3 separate regions of the Homo sapiens genome follow, and regions 1 and 3 are each linked to region 2. Evidence: promoter capture Hi-C in 16 types of primary human blood cells and fetal thymus (Javierre and others, 2016). All regions are on one chromosome and are shown on one strand. The core of a region is centred on a gene start or on the middle of the fragment in contact, and the rest is flanking DNA. Distances in the headings are between cores, read along the strand shown.

Region 1 (4,262 bases), core at 1,057-3,556, 300 kb after region 2:
AATGACTCTGATCAATTAGTTACATGTAGAAGTCAGCTACCTACTCACTCAGTATGACTAAGATGACCTCAAAAGGGGTGTCTCAGCTTGAAGCAAAATAGGCTAAAGAGCACTTACTTCTACCCCATAGTTGTCCCATAAATCCAAGATCATCTGGTTCAGAAATCCAATTAATTTAGTGAACAGATACATTTTAGTTGCAATGCAAATAGTCTCATTTTAGTTGCAAAGAATGATTTCTGTAGTTTGGTCTCAGAACTGCAAAAGAAACTCTCATCCCACTTTATTTAAAGTACTATACTTACCAGCTTGCGAATTCGGTCCAACACGAGGTCAATGATCTCCTTGCCAATGGTGTAGTGCCCTCGGGCATAGTTATTGGCAGCATCTTCCTTGCCTGTGATGAGTTGCTCAGGGTGGAAGAGCTGGCGGTAAGTGCCAGTGCGAACTTCATCTGGAGAACATGATGGGGGAGGAGGAGGAGGGACAAGGAGCGGGGAGGGAGAGTGGGTGAGTGACCAGCGGAGCCCCCCCAGGACAGACCTCCTGTCCCAGCACCCTGGGATCTCACTTGGGTTACTGAGGTCAACTCACCAATGACTGTGGGTTCCAAGTCTACAAACACTGCCCGGGGCACATGCTTGCCAGCACCCGTTTCACTGAAGAAGGTGTTGAAGGAATCATCTCCTCCCCCAATGGTCTTGTCACTTGGCATCTGGCCATCGGGCTGGATGCCGTGTTCCAGGCAGTAGAGCTCCCAGCAGGCATTGCCAATCTGGACACCAGCCTGGCCAACGTGGATGGAGATGCACTCACGCTGTGGGAGGAAGAAAGGAAAATGTCAGGGTATAATACATCAGATGGGACATTTAGGAATGATTCACACCTAATGACTGATTAACCTTCAAGACAGATAACTGGCTGGGCGCAGTGACTCACACCTGTAATCCCAGTACTTTGGGAGGCTGAGGCAGGTGGATCACCTGAGGTCAGGAGTTTGAGATCTGCTTGGCCAACATGGCAAAACTGCATCTCTACTAAAAATACAAAAAAAATTAGCCAGGCATGATGGCGCACACCTGTAGTCCCAGCTACTTGGGAGGCTGAGGGAGGAGAATCACTTGAACTCAGGAGGTGGAGGTTGCAGTGAGCTGAGATCACACCACTGCCCTCCAGCCTGAGTGACAAGATATTCCATCTCAAACAAAAAAAGATAACCATCTTTCAGCAGGCCACTCCTGCTCAGGGACTATAATTTCAAAAGCAAAAATCTTTGAAGACCTAATTCAGCAAAAGTGCCTTGGAAAACCAAAGATGTGTTCATGAACTACTCGGCAAGACCAGACAGTTGCTTTGTAGCCACAGTAGATATGATTCCTTAAACTAAGGCAAAATTCCCCTTTCCAGCTCTGATTCATTCTCTGAATGATTGTGTAACTACTGAGCTCATTCTGGTCCCGCTTTAATCCTATTCTTTAGGAGACAAAAGCTTCTCTCTCCCTCCTTTAAAACCAGCTTAAACCAGCAAACTATAGCCATGACTCATGAAGAAAATGCTGGATAAGCAGCAGTTAGCTGTATTTTAAAAACTGTGGTCAGAGGCAGCTTTTTAACCAAGTGGAAGAATCTAATCTATAGGAAGAACGTTTTTCCTTCACCGTCAAAACATCTCCGGAAGAGGGAAGACCATAATAATAAAGGCTAGAAATGTTACCAAGACTTTACTGATAGGTTAAGAAATTAGTTGTTTCTGGCTCACACCTGTAATCCCAGCACTTTGGGAGGCCAAGGTGAGCAGATCACTTGAGGTCAGGAGTTTGAAATCAGCCTGGCCAACATGGTGAAACTGTCTCTATTAAAAATACAAAAAAAAAAAAAATTATGGTAGAGCACAGTGGCTCATGCCTGTAATCCCAGGACTTTGGGAGACCGAGGTGGGTGGATCATCTGAGGTCAGGAGTTCAAGAACAGCCTGGCCAATATGCTGAAACCCCATCTCTACTAAAAATACAAGAATTAGCCAGGCATGGTGGTGCGCGCCTGTAGTCCCAGCTACTCGGAAGACTGAGGCATGAGAATCACTTGAACCCAAACCCAGGAGGTGGCGGTTGCAGAGATCTCGCCACTGCACTCCAGCCTGGGCAACAGAGGCAAGACTCTGTGTCTGTGTCTGTGTGTGTGTGTCTCTCTCTCATAGATATATATTTATGAGGTGGACCAAGTTAATTTAGAAAGGCCAGAGGGGCCAAAGCAGAATATGGTTAGAAATTACCAAACCCACACCTGCTAAGTAAAATAAGGGAATAAACATAGAATCTGTACACACAGACTTAACAGGAAAACAAAAAGGGTGTTTGGCATTTCATCATAAGTCAGATTAGCCACTTTGGAGACTGGCAGAGCACTAAGTTCTCAAAGGACCTGGTCTCATAAGCCAAGAGATAATAAAAACCCTAATTACTCACAACCTTTGACCTCCTTCCCACCTACACTCCCCATGAAACAATCAAGGTCTCTTAACCACATCAGCAAGCTCAGTATCACCTGGGTCTACTCACCCAGCTCCAGGGGTGTGGGAGAACAGGAGTAGTTTGTTCTAATTAGCCCATGACTATTTACCATTGCATCATGTTTACCTTTTTGAGAAAAAGTCTCGCTCTGTCGCCCAGGCTGGAGTGCAGTGGAAACTCCGCCTTCCAGGTTCAAGCGATTTTCCTGCCTCAGCCTCCCAAGTAGCTGGGATTACAGGTGCCCACCACCATGCCTGCCTTATTTTCGTATTTTTAGTAGAGATGGGGTTTCACCATGTTGGCCAGGCTGGTCTTGAACTCCTGACCTCGGGTGATCTACTCACCTCGGCCTCCCAAAGTGCTGGGATTATAGGCGGGAGCCACCACGCCCGGCATCATGTTTACCTTTAACTGGACTTTGGAAACGCCCAAGCCCCAAAAAGCTGGAGATAACCAGATACCTGATCATGATGGCCCCCAGGCCCAAGGAGATAAAGTATCTGAGAAGATCCACTCATTCTAACAAATGCTTCTTCTGTTTAAATGCCGTTTCTATTTTGCGCCCGCAATTTTTCTTTCATTGCTCAGTCTAAACTGCCTTCTTGAAGCTTAGCAGGCAGTCAGCGGCCACTGACTTACCCTCCACTCTCCCCTGGCCACGTGGGAGAAAGTGAGGCACAGGTGGAGTCAATTGGTCTAGTGTTAACTGGATAAGCAGCTCTTACCTCTCGTTAAAAAACAAGAAAATTTAACCAGTGTTCACCTAAACCAGTCCGCTGCCGCTCTCCTGCTTTTTAAAGGGTCTCACTACTTTGTGAATCCCACTTTTACCAGTATCTTTTTGGTACTGCTTGAAAAGAAGCAATAAGTTGTTACAGTGCGACATATACATGTATTTACATTTGATTTTTATATTTAAATTCATGTACGTATTTTTGAGATAAGGTCTCGCTGGAGTGCAGTGGTGCGATCTGGGCTCACTGCAGCTTCCACCTCCCGGGATCAAAAGATCCTCCCACCCCTGCCTCCCGAGAAGCTGGGACTACAGGCACGCACCACGACGCCCAGATAATTTTTGTATTTTTAGTATAGACGGAGTTTCACCGTGTTGCCCAGGCTGGTCTCGACCTCCTGAGCTCAAGCGGTCCTCCCGCCTCGGACTCCCAAAGTGCTGGGATTACAACCATAAGCCATCGCGCCCGGCCTAAGATAGTTGTTTTCAATACTTCTGGAAGCTTTATAGAAAACACTCAAGTTACGTATAATTTCACGTTTCTTGAAAACTGAACTAAGAACACGTGGTACTAGTTTACTCTGGGGTTTGCGGGTTTTTTTTTGTTTTTGGACGGAGTCTTGCTCTGTCGCCCAGGCTGGAGTGCAGTGGCGCGATCTCGGCTCACTGCAAGCTCCGCCTCCCGGGTTCACGCCATTCTCCTGCCTCAGCCTCCCGAGTAGCTGAGACTACAAGCGCCTGCCACCACGCCCAGCTAATTTTTTTTTTTTTTTTTTTAGTAGAGACGGGGTTTCACCGTGTTAGCCAGGATGGTCTCGATTTCCTGATCTCGTGATCCACCAGCCTCAGCCTCCCAAAGTGCTGGGATTACAGGCGTGAGCCACCGCGCCGGGCCGGGTTTGCGTTTTTTTGAGACAGTTTCGCTCTGTCGTCCAGACTGGAGTGCAGTAGCGCGATCTCGGCTCAGGGAAACCTACGCCTCCTGGGTTCAAGCGATTTTCCTGCCTCAGCCTCCCGAG
Region 2 (4,199 bases), core at 406-2,905:
GCACTCCAGCCTGGGTGACAGAGGAAGGCTCTGTCTCAAAAAAAATAAAACAAAATTTAAAAACCATGTATTAAAAAACTGGAAAATAATTAGAGAGAAGAATTACTACTACTACCACTTGGACATGTGTTAACATTCTGGTGCATTTCCTTCAACTGTCTTTTCCTTTGTATGTTTTTAATAGTTATCATGAATTCATATATATTTAATAACATTAATATTATTAATGTTCTGTGTAATCACTTTTTATAAAAATTATTTCAGGCCGGGTGCTGTGGCTCATGCCTGTAATCCCAGCACTTTGGGAGGCCGAGGCAGCCTGATCATGAGATCAGGAGTTCAAGACCAGCCTGGCCAACATGGTGAAAACCTGTCTCTACAAAAAAAAAAAAAAAAAAACTTAGCTGGGCATGGTGGCACGTGCCTGTAATCCTAGCTACTCGGGAGGCTGAGGCAGGAGAATTGCCTGAACCGAGACCCGGGGGCCGGAGGTTGCAGTGAGCCGAGATTGTGCCACTGCACTCCAGCCTGGGCTATGGAGCGGGACTCTGTCTCAAAAAAAAAAAATTTCATTGGTTTTCTGATATTTTCACAAGTTTACATAATATATTTAATCAAGTGCCTGTTAAAAAATAAAACACACACTCTTTCATGGGAGTTAAAATAAGTACATACTCATTAAACAAGTCCACAGAACAGTAAATGAGGTTGGTACTCTCGAAGCAGAGGGCCATAGTATACCGTCAGGGCCAAAAGGGCCAGTCTCTCATTTGACACTTGAATTCCCTAGCAATGTCCATGTTATGTGTTCTTGACACCTCTGATGGACAGCTTTGGAACTGAATCTTTCTTATTCTGAGCTGAAGTATGTCTCTCTATAGCTGCTAGACTTTAGTACCTCGCAAAGGAAGCATAAAACAGAATTCCTCTTTTAGACAACAGTCTTTCTAGTTTTCCGGAACATCTCTCACAGCCCCAAATTCCCAATTTTTCCGACAGGTTCGTTCTCCCACCCCAAGATTCCTTCCAAGGCACTCTCCTCTGAAGGTGCTTCCATTGGTTTTCTCTCTTACCTCCCGGCGACCACAAGTGGCCCCAGCCGTCCAGGTGGGGTCCGGCTGACGGGACCAAGTCGACACTACTCCTTCTCGCAGGGTCTCTTCCTTCTCAGTAAAGCGGCCCACGATCCTCCATCCGCTCCTCAGAGAGCCTCTCTGCCCTTTCTGTCCGCCACATCTCCCTGGCTACATTATCTCCCCGACTAGTGCCTAGCAGGCGGGCCTGATAGAAGTTTCTCTAAAGGCTCTGGAGGAGTCAAACAATGCATAAGGTCCTGTGCAACCCTCAGACTCCTATACCTCGTGGGAATTTGGAAGTCGAAATCCAGTCCGCGGTCCCGCCCCTCCCCGGGTCGCCTCAATTAGCCCCGCTCGGTCTCGCCCTAAGTCTCGCCTTTCCCTTTAACCAACCCCTCAAGCCGGGTTACCTCTCCGGTGCCTATAATCCTTAACGTTTCCCTATATGCTGTCCCAACTAGGAAAGCCTTTACTTTCCGCTATTGGTAAAATATTTACACTTTCCGTACCATGGCCACGCCCCCTTCACACACGTTGCCAAGACGAACCGGAAGAGATTGCCAGCCCCCTGGTTCGTTAACCGGAAGTAGACGTACCTCACGGAAGCCGGCTTTGGCCCTGCGGCTGCTACCGTCGCCGCGGAGAAATTGTTGGATCTGGCAGTCTAGGAATGGTGAGACCTCGCGGTTCGCCTCTGAGGGTTCTCAGAGGAGTTGGGGATGAAATGGAGTTTTGCAGAGTGCCGCCGGGGACGACCACCCCCCAAGTTTGGGGCCCCGCCCCAGTGGCGCCCCGAAAAGCTGCGCATGCGTGGGCCGGACCGGGTTAGAATCTGGCTCGAAGTGTTACGCATGCGCAAAGGCATGGAGACCGTGGGGTGAGAATGGGCTTGCGAGTTTACCCCCACCTCCCCAGCCACCAGCCTGTGGGTCTCAAACCAAGGCTACTTGGTGCTCTGCTTTGAGTTGCAGAGGTGACTTCATCAATGCTCCTACCCCGAGTTCTTGAGACAGACCTGGACCGATCCCCTACCTTGGGTGTGCACTCTTGGGAGAACGAGGGGCGGAGGGTCCGGTAAGGAAGGGGCACAGACCCTACCTCAGTTTGCCGGCAAGCTCGGGCCCCTTCGCCCTCTCCTCAGATGTCAAGATTCTTAGTCGTAGCCTATGGAGCGGAGAGCGACAGGCTCACCTGGGGACAGGGCTAGAACACTGAGCTAAGAGCCACCCTGGTTAGAAGTGGGGACTCACGAGAGGAGCGCCCCGAGAAAGTCCAGTACCTGGGTTCTCTAGGGGTTGTTGGGGCACAGCGTGGTTGATAATCACGCAGTTCCCAAACAGTGGTTTTTGGTTTCCACGAGATGGTATCTCATGGAAATACCACTTACTAAATCTTCAGTAAAAACCCCAAATGGAAAAGAAAAACAAAAAAAAAACGAGATGGACTGGTTGGAGTTTTGTCTCCCTTTCTTTTTTCCTGCTTTGGCCTGGGAGGGGAAGGCTGGTGCTGCTGAGCTGAGTGGACAGCTGAAGTAAAGAAAAATGTGGGCCAAAGAATCCCTTGTCTCTTGCTAGTTTATAGTCAAGGCGCTTAACCTAGGAGATACCAGTAGAATTAAAGGGTCTATGAACCCTCTAAAATAGTATGTGTTTGCACCCTTTTCTGCAGTCCATAGCTGTTATCATACTCTGAAAGGTGCCAGTGACCTTCACAAGACTGATGTCTAAGGCTATTATTGGCAGAGTGGGGCCTTATGCCTCTTTCCTGTCCTTATGTCTTCCCTAGCTTATGGGACCCTGGGGGACCTGAGCCAGTATAAGGAAGTGAGGCTGGCCAGTTGGAAATCTGAGCCTCAGGGAGCCTCATTTCTCCTTTGCAGAATCTCCTCTCAGCCTTTAAGCTCACCTGGTCAGAATCCTTGGATGAGCCTGTGGGACCGTTCCTCCTAGCCCGGTGGTTTGGAACCAGTGGCTTTGGGACTGTAAGAGGATGGACAAAGGTAGTATGAGGCCGGGACAGCTCCCCAAATGCTCGGGCGCCAAGCATCTGCTGATTCCACTCTGTGCCTGGCACGTGTGTCTTTCGGTCCTGGCTAGGCCTTGCCACCTCCCCCTGGGCCAGCACCACCCATGTACCTGTCGGCAGAGCCACAGTTGACTGACTTGCTGTTGAGCTGCTGCTCTTTAGCACGGCTGCATTTTGATGGCAGAGGGAGCAGTTATGCCCAGAGCCCAGCGTGTCGGCATCACCAGTCTGACCTGAGCACCATGTGCTGCACGACATGACACGTGGCACCGGGGGAACTGCCCAGCGTGGAAGGTCTGGGCCAGGTCTGAGCCCAGATGGGATCTGGATGGCCAAGGAACTCTACCTTAAAACCTCAAGTGTCAAGGAGGCAGGGGAGGGGCCAAGAGGGCTGGCAGGGGAAGGGGGCTGGGGAGGGGTCCCATTTGCAGAGGCTCTAGGATCTTAGGAGGCCCGAATCCACCATTTCTCTCTTGCTAGATTCTCAGGGGCTGCTAGATTCATCCCTGATGGCATCAGGCACTGCCAGCCGCTCAGAGGATGAGGAGTCACTGGCAGGGCAGAAGCGAGCCTCCTCCCAGGCCTTGGGCACCATCCCTAAACGGAGAAGCTCCTCCAGGTAGTAAGGGTTCGGAGGGCCAGGAACTGGGAAAGGGTAGAAGGTCTGTGGCGTTAAGTGCCACATGCCTCCCCATCTGTTGGGAATGGCTGCCTGAGCCCCTCTGGGGCCTTAGTATTGGCAGAGCCTTGTGCTTTTCCTGTCCCTGCTAAATCCTTCCCTGTGGGACTGAGGGCAGGGGAGGGAGATCTTAGGTCTCTGACGTGAAGTCTTTGTGGTGTGATACCCTGTCATCTCAGAGGGCTGGAGTGTAGCAGTTCCATGGCCACAACCAGGCTGTGGCGTAAAGTGAAAGCAGGCTGGAGCAGATAGCACCCTACTGGGCACCTGCTCTCTTTTGGGGGCTGGGGGTGTGTGAATGGGTACCAGGGTGGGGTAAGGAGTGTTCACTGGGCAGGACCCTTTACAGGTTCATCAAGAGGAAGAAGTTCGATGATGAGCTGGTGGAGAGCAGCCTGGCAAAATCTTCTACCCGGGCA
Region 3 (4,629 bases), core at 262-2,761, 470 kb after region 2:
TGTTGCCTGGGCTGGTCTTGAACTCCTGAGCTCAAGTGATCCACCTACCTTGGACTCCCCAAATGATGGAATTACAGGGGTTAGCCACAACACCCAGCCATCTTTTTTTTGGGGGGGGGGGTCCTCACTCTGTCACCCAGGTTAGAGTGCAGTGGCATGATCTTAGCTCACTCTACAGCCTTGAACTCTTGCACCCAAGTGATCCTCCTTCCTCAGCCTCCTGAGTACCTAAGACTACAGGCATGTACCACTACCTCCCACTAATTAATTTTTTTTTTTTGAAACGGGGTGTCACTATGTTGACCAAGTTGGTCTTCAACTCATGGCCTCAAGCAGTCCTTGCCTCGCCCCCAAAGTGTTGGGATTACAGGAGTGAGCCACTGTGCCTGGCCTGGTTTTTTCTGATGTACACAAAGTTGCTATGAGTACTAGCCATAGAGTGTGGTGAGGGGAGGGTGAATATGAAACACAAAGTGTAGATTCCACAAATGCTTGCAAAGCACCCTTCTGTAGAGTAGGCACTTAACCTTGGAGATACATGATAAATATGTGTGTGCTTAAGATTGCTTTGTCTAGTAAGGTGCCAGATAATTCTAATACTGTTCTAACACTGCAGTTAAGTAATGGTTCTCGAGGGAACACAGGTGGGCAGTGTTGGGACATCAAGGAAGGCTTCTTAGAAGAAATGACTTCTAAACAAAAGAAATTGGACGTGGTGCCTCTGAGATGAGATCTGAGTGGCTGAAAATGGAGCCCCGGGAGTCCAGAGAGGGAGAAAGCTGGAGAGGTGCCTAGATGGACGGTTAAGGGAAGTGATCCTCACCTCTTACAAAGACTTTTGAGTGTCCACTGCCCTTCAGCAGCTTCCAACTGAGAAGTCATTCATTTGAAAAACAGCAGCTATTAGATGCCTGGCAAAGAAGAGAAGGGGAAAAAAGTTGGAAGTCCTAAATGAGACAATAAGTACCAAGCTCTGTTCCTGGTTCTGGGGAAGTTCCAAAGGAGACTGCAAAGTTAGTAGAGAAATGGGCCCCTGGTATCCTCACCTCCCAGTCCTGCTTAATGCTGAATGTGAGGAGAGATGGAAGTCGGGGAGATCTGGGGAGGACTACAGAGAAGGGAGGCTCTGGTTGTATGCCCAAAGGGCTTGGCTGGTCTTGGGCAGAAATTGGAACCCATACTTCCTGGATGACAGCGGAGGGCATGGCCTGCCAGGGTAGGCTTTGAGAGAGTAAAAATTCCAATTCAAGTATCAGAGGAGGGTGGTTTGGTTCCAAGTTTAAGCTTGGAGGTAGAAGGATGTTTAGGCAGCCAAGGACTGTAAAGCTACAAGTATTTCCTAGGCAGGTGTCTGCCTGGTTTCCAGGATGGGACACACTTCAGTCGCAAAATGGACCAGCAGTGACCGGCTAGATCCCCCGCCCGGGTGGGAGGGGGTGGGACGGTCTTGGGAGAAGGGCGGAGGGCGGGGCCAGGGGCCACTTAAGGCGGAGTCCGGAGTCCGGGCGTTCTGGCAGCACCAGAGTCCTGCAGCAGAGACGGGCTGGGCTGGCACTCACCCACGACCCCCCTTCCCTGCTATGATGGTTTGTCAGTAGCAGGTCCTAGACACCCCCCGCCCGCTCCCGGGGCACGTGGGCAGAGCTAGCAGCAGCCAGGTGCACGGAGCCACAAGAGCTCTAGGGCACTCTGGGGGCAGCTGTGCCTGCTGCCCTCTCTGGTGCCTGTGGAGATGCCTAACTGACAGGAGAGTTAGTGAGGACAAGAACGCTCCCTTTTGGCCGAGGTCCGCTGTATCCATGGCTCTCCTGACCAATCTACTGCCCCTGTGCTGCTTGGCACTTCTGGCGCTGCCAGCCCAGAGCTGCGGGCCGGGCCGGGGGCCGGTTGGCCGGCGCCGCTATGCGCGCAAGCAGCTCGTGCCGCTACTCTACAAGCAATTTGTGCCCGGCGTGCCAGAGCGGACCCTGGGCGCCAGTGGGCCAGCGGAGGGGAGGGTGGCAAGGGGCTCCGAGCGCTTCCGGGACCTCGTGCCCAACTACAACCCCGACATCATCTTCAAGGATGAGGAGAACAGTGGAGCCGACCGCCTGATGACCGAGGTAAGGAGGGCCTCTCCCTACCTGCGCCGGGGCACTGCCAGCTCCTCCGTTTTCCTATGGCAGCCCAGGTGGGTGAGTCCAGCTTCACCTACAGAGAGTTTAGCCTTAGAGATTTCCCTTGTCACCAGCCCCAGGGGGGGGAAAAATCCTTGCAGTCTGGACAGAGTAATTAGGACGGCTCCCGACTAGAATAGTCTGGGATGGGGAGGGGAGGAGGGACTGACTAGTGAGAGTGAAGCTGGTAGAGGCAGCGAGGGCGGGGAAAGGAGGATGGCGGCAGGCGAGACGGGAAATGGCTGAGGCGTGGACCGGGGGTCAGCCACCCAGCCAGGCAGGAAGGGCTGGGGTGAGCTGGGGGCCAGGAGCTGGCTAGGTAGCAGACAGAAGCCTGGCTCCTGACCTGATTGTAGAAAAGCTCTGTGGGCCGAAAAGAAGAGACTGAAAAGGGCTGGGACAGGGGTGGCCAAGGGTCAGGTCACCAGACCATCTACCTGAGGAGGGGCTGGGCAGACATTGCTTTTGGCATGGGAAACGTGTCCTAGAACCAGGACACATCTATTCTAGGGTCTATTCTAGGGCTATCCTAGGGTCTAAACGATAATCTTGGGGTTAAAAAGTAATCCTCAGTGAGAATAACAGATGGACCCACCTGAGAATCAGAGGGCTCCTAAGTCTTCCAAGCTCTGCCTATCTCAGGGGCTTTCCTTGGAATTACATAATTAGGATAAATTCAACTACCATTTTTGAGCATTGGAACCACCTAGAGTGAGGTGGAAGAGAAGGACCACCTCTGGCGAGTGATTTATTTTTTATTTTTTGTAGAGACGGGGTCTTGCCATGTTGCCTAGGCTAGTCTTGAACTCCTGAGCTCAAGGGATCCTCCCACCTCGGCCTCCCAAAGTGCTGGATTACAGGTGTGAGCCACTTCATCCAGCCTGGCCAGTGATCTTGAATGTTAGAACTGAAAGAAAACTTGAGAGATGACATTCCTCCAACCCTCCCCACCCCCACTGCCACCCTCATTTTACATCTGAGAGCTGGACTTCCCCCAGGAGGAAAAGCAATTTAAACTCTCACAATTTAAAGTGGCATGGCTGGGACTAGAATTCAGGACTCCTGATTCTAAGCCCTATATACTTTCCATTACACCACCTAATTGTGTATGGAGTGGGGAGGTGGGGGGAGAGGGAGGGGTACGGATTTCCTCTGATTAATTGCCATAGTTTTCCAGGTTACTTTGTTAGGAAAACCTGTCCAGGGAAGAAATAATTCCTTTTGCTTCTGCCCTGAAGCCTTCCTCCTACCTAGAGATGGGAAAAGGGGCATTCCTTCTTTCCTCCTTGGCCGTGGAACATTGTGGCCCTTTCCTCTGGTTGCCACCTGCAGCAGAGTGGGCAGAACAAGGGACAGGCTCAGGAGGGGCTCCGGCAGGCCTGGGAGCCCCCTCAGTCTTACTTATCTCCCACACCCTGGCTGCAAAAGGCCTCCATTGAGTTGGCTCTGCACTGGGCTGCTGCCCCCGCAGGTCAGGGCCTCGGGGCCTCCTTAGGGGACGAAACGACAAAGTTGGAAGGAGCTACCACTTTTCCTGTTTTCCCCCCACCCAACCCCAACTCTGCGGGGTGGAGGAGACTAGAGGAGAGGGGAAAAGTGTCTTTCTGTTAGGAGAAAACCAAGTCCGAGGTGAGAGGTCGGAGGGGAAAGAAAAAAAGGAAGCTGTCCCTCTGCGCCTCCTCCCGCGGTGTCCCTGCTATGGTGCGCGCCAAGGTCTCCCGCTCCCAGGCTGGAGCGGCCAAGATAACTGTGGTCTCACTCCCCCAGGTGCAGGCTTCCAGCCGCAGCTTCTTTTCCTCTTCTCCGCTCTCACCCTGCAGGGGGCTCCCCAGATCCGCACAAGGAGACCGTTATTCTCAGGTGCTACTCCCACGCCCTTCTGGGCTGCATCTAGAGCAGAGATGGGAGAGATAGGGGCTCTCCGGACTGGCAGAGCCTTAGCTGGAACTGGGAAGACTGGACGCGCGGGGGGAGGGGACCTACCCGGACGGAGCAGGGATTGGGGGCGCGGCTTTCTGCCCTTTCCTCTCCCTGAGCCGGGGCGGCTGAAAAGCGCCTTTGTGGCCGGAGCTGCTGAGTCCGCTTCTCCCAGCGCGTTCCCGGCCTGGGCTCAGGATTCTCGCTCGGTTAAGTCATCCCGGATAATGGCCATTGTACTTCGCGCAACCCCCGCCACCCCAATCCTTTTTCCAGCAGCCTTGATCCCGCACAGCTCCTCTTGGGCACCTCTCTGGGGGGCACCCAGAGCACGAAGGGGTTAATGCTAAGGGCCCAAAGGAGGAGGAGGAAGGAAGGAAGGAAGCGATGCCCGGTGCCAGGGAAGGCAATGAAACAAAAGATGAATCAGGCGGAGGGAGGGGAGCCGGTGCCTGGGGCGGGGGCCAGGCTCAAACAGGGGCTCTCCGGGAGCAACCAGGCCCTCCCTGACCACGCTTCCATTCGCCCTCCTAACTCTGTCCTTCTCCCAGGTTGA

What was found. The method cuts DNA at HindIII sites, captures the fragments that hold promoters and counts their contacts. A CHiCAGO score of 5 or more calls a contact.
Region 1: a fragment that was not itself captured here is called in contact with the fragment with the promoter of MCRS1 in region 2 in 6 of 17 cell types (endothelial precursors, M0 macrophages, M1 macrophages and 3 more); the score reaches 14.0 in endothelial precursors.
Region 3: a contact is called between the fragment with the promoter of DHH here and the fragment with the promoter of MCRS1 in region 2, in 14 of 17 cell types (M0 macrophages, monocytes, M2 macrophages and 11 more). The highest score is 11.3, in M0 macrophages.

Annotation. Positions count from the first base shown.
Region 1 is chr12:49,266,020-49,270,281 of GRCh38, reverse strand. It overlaps TUBA1C (tubulin alpha 1c), which reads right to left. Exons shown (of 4, transcript NM_032704.5): 2 at 595-817; 3 at 306-454. Among named protein-coding and RNA genes, the nearest start is that of TUBA1C, 3.1 kb to the right of the region's middle. The HindIII fragment of the contact is 1,629 bases long and covers 1,492-3,120 here.
Region 2 is chr12:49,565,598-49,569,796 of GRCh38, reverse strand. It overlaps MCRS1 (microspherule protein 1), which reads left to right and starts at 1,655. Exons shown (of 15, transcript NM_006337.5): 1 at 1,655-1,749; 2 at 2,956-3,075; 3 at 3,582-3,720; 4 at 4,130-4,199. The coding sequence starts at 3,066. RefSeq lists enhancers at 1,156-1,205, 1,556-2,359. The HindIII fragment of the contact is 9,561 bases long and covers 1-4,199 here.
Region 3 is chr12:49,091,683-49,096,311 of GRCh38, reverse strand. DHH (desert hedgehog signaling molecule) reads left to right here and starts at 1,511. Exons shown (of 3, transcript NM_021044.4): 1 at 1,511-2,102. The coding sequence starts at 1,800. DHH-AS1 (DHH antisense RNA 1) reads right to left here and starts at 4,218. Exons shown (of 4, transcript XR_007063295.1): 1 at 3,970-4,218; 2 at 3,407-3,482; 3 at 2,124-2,190; 4 at 568-911. RefSeq lists a cis regulatory region at 3,557-3,574, an enhancer at 3,494-3,638 and a silencer at 4,497-4,629. The HindIII fragment of the contact is 10,631 bases long and covers 1,287-4,629 here.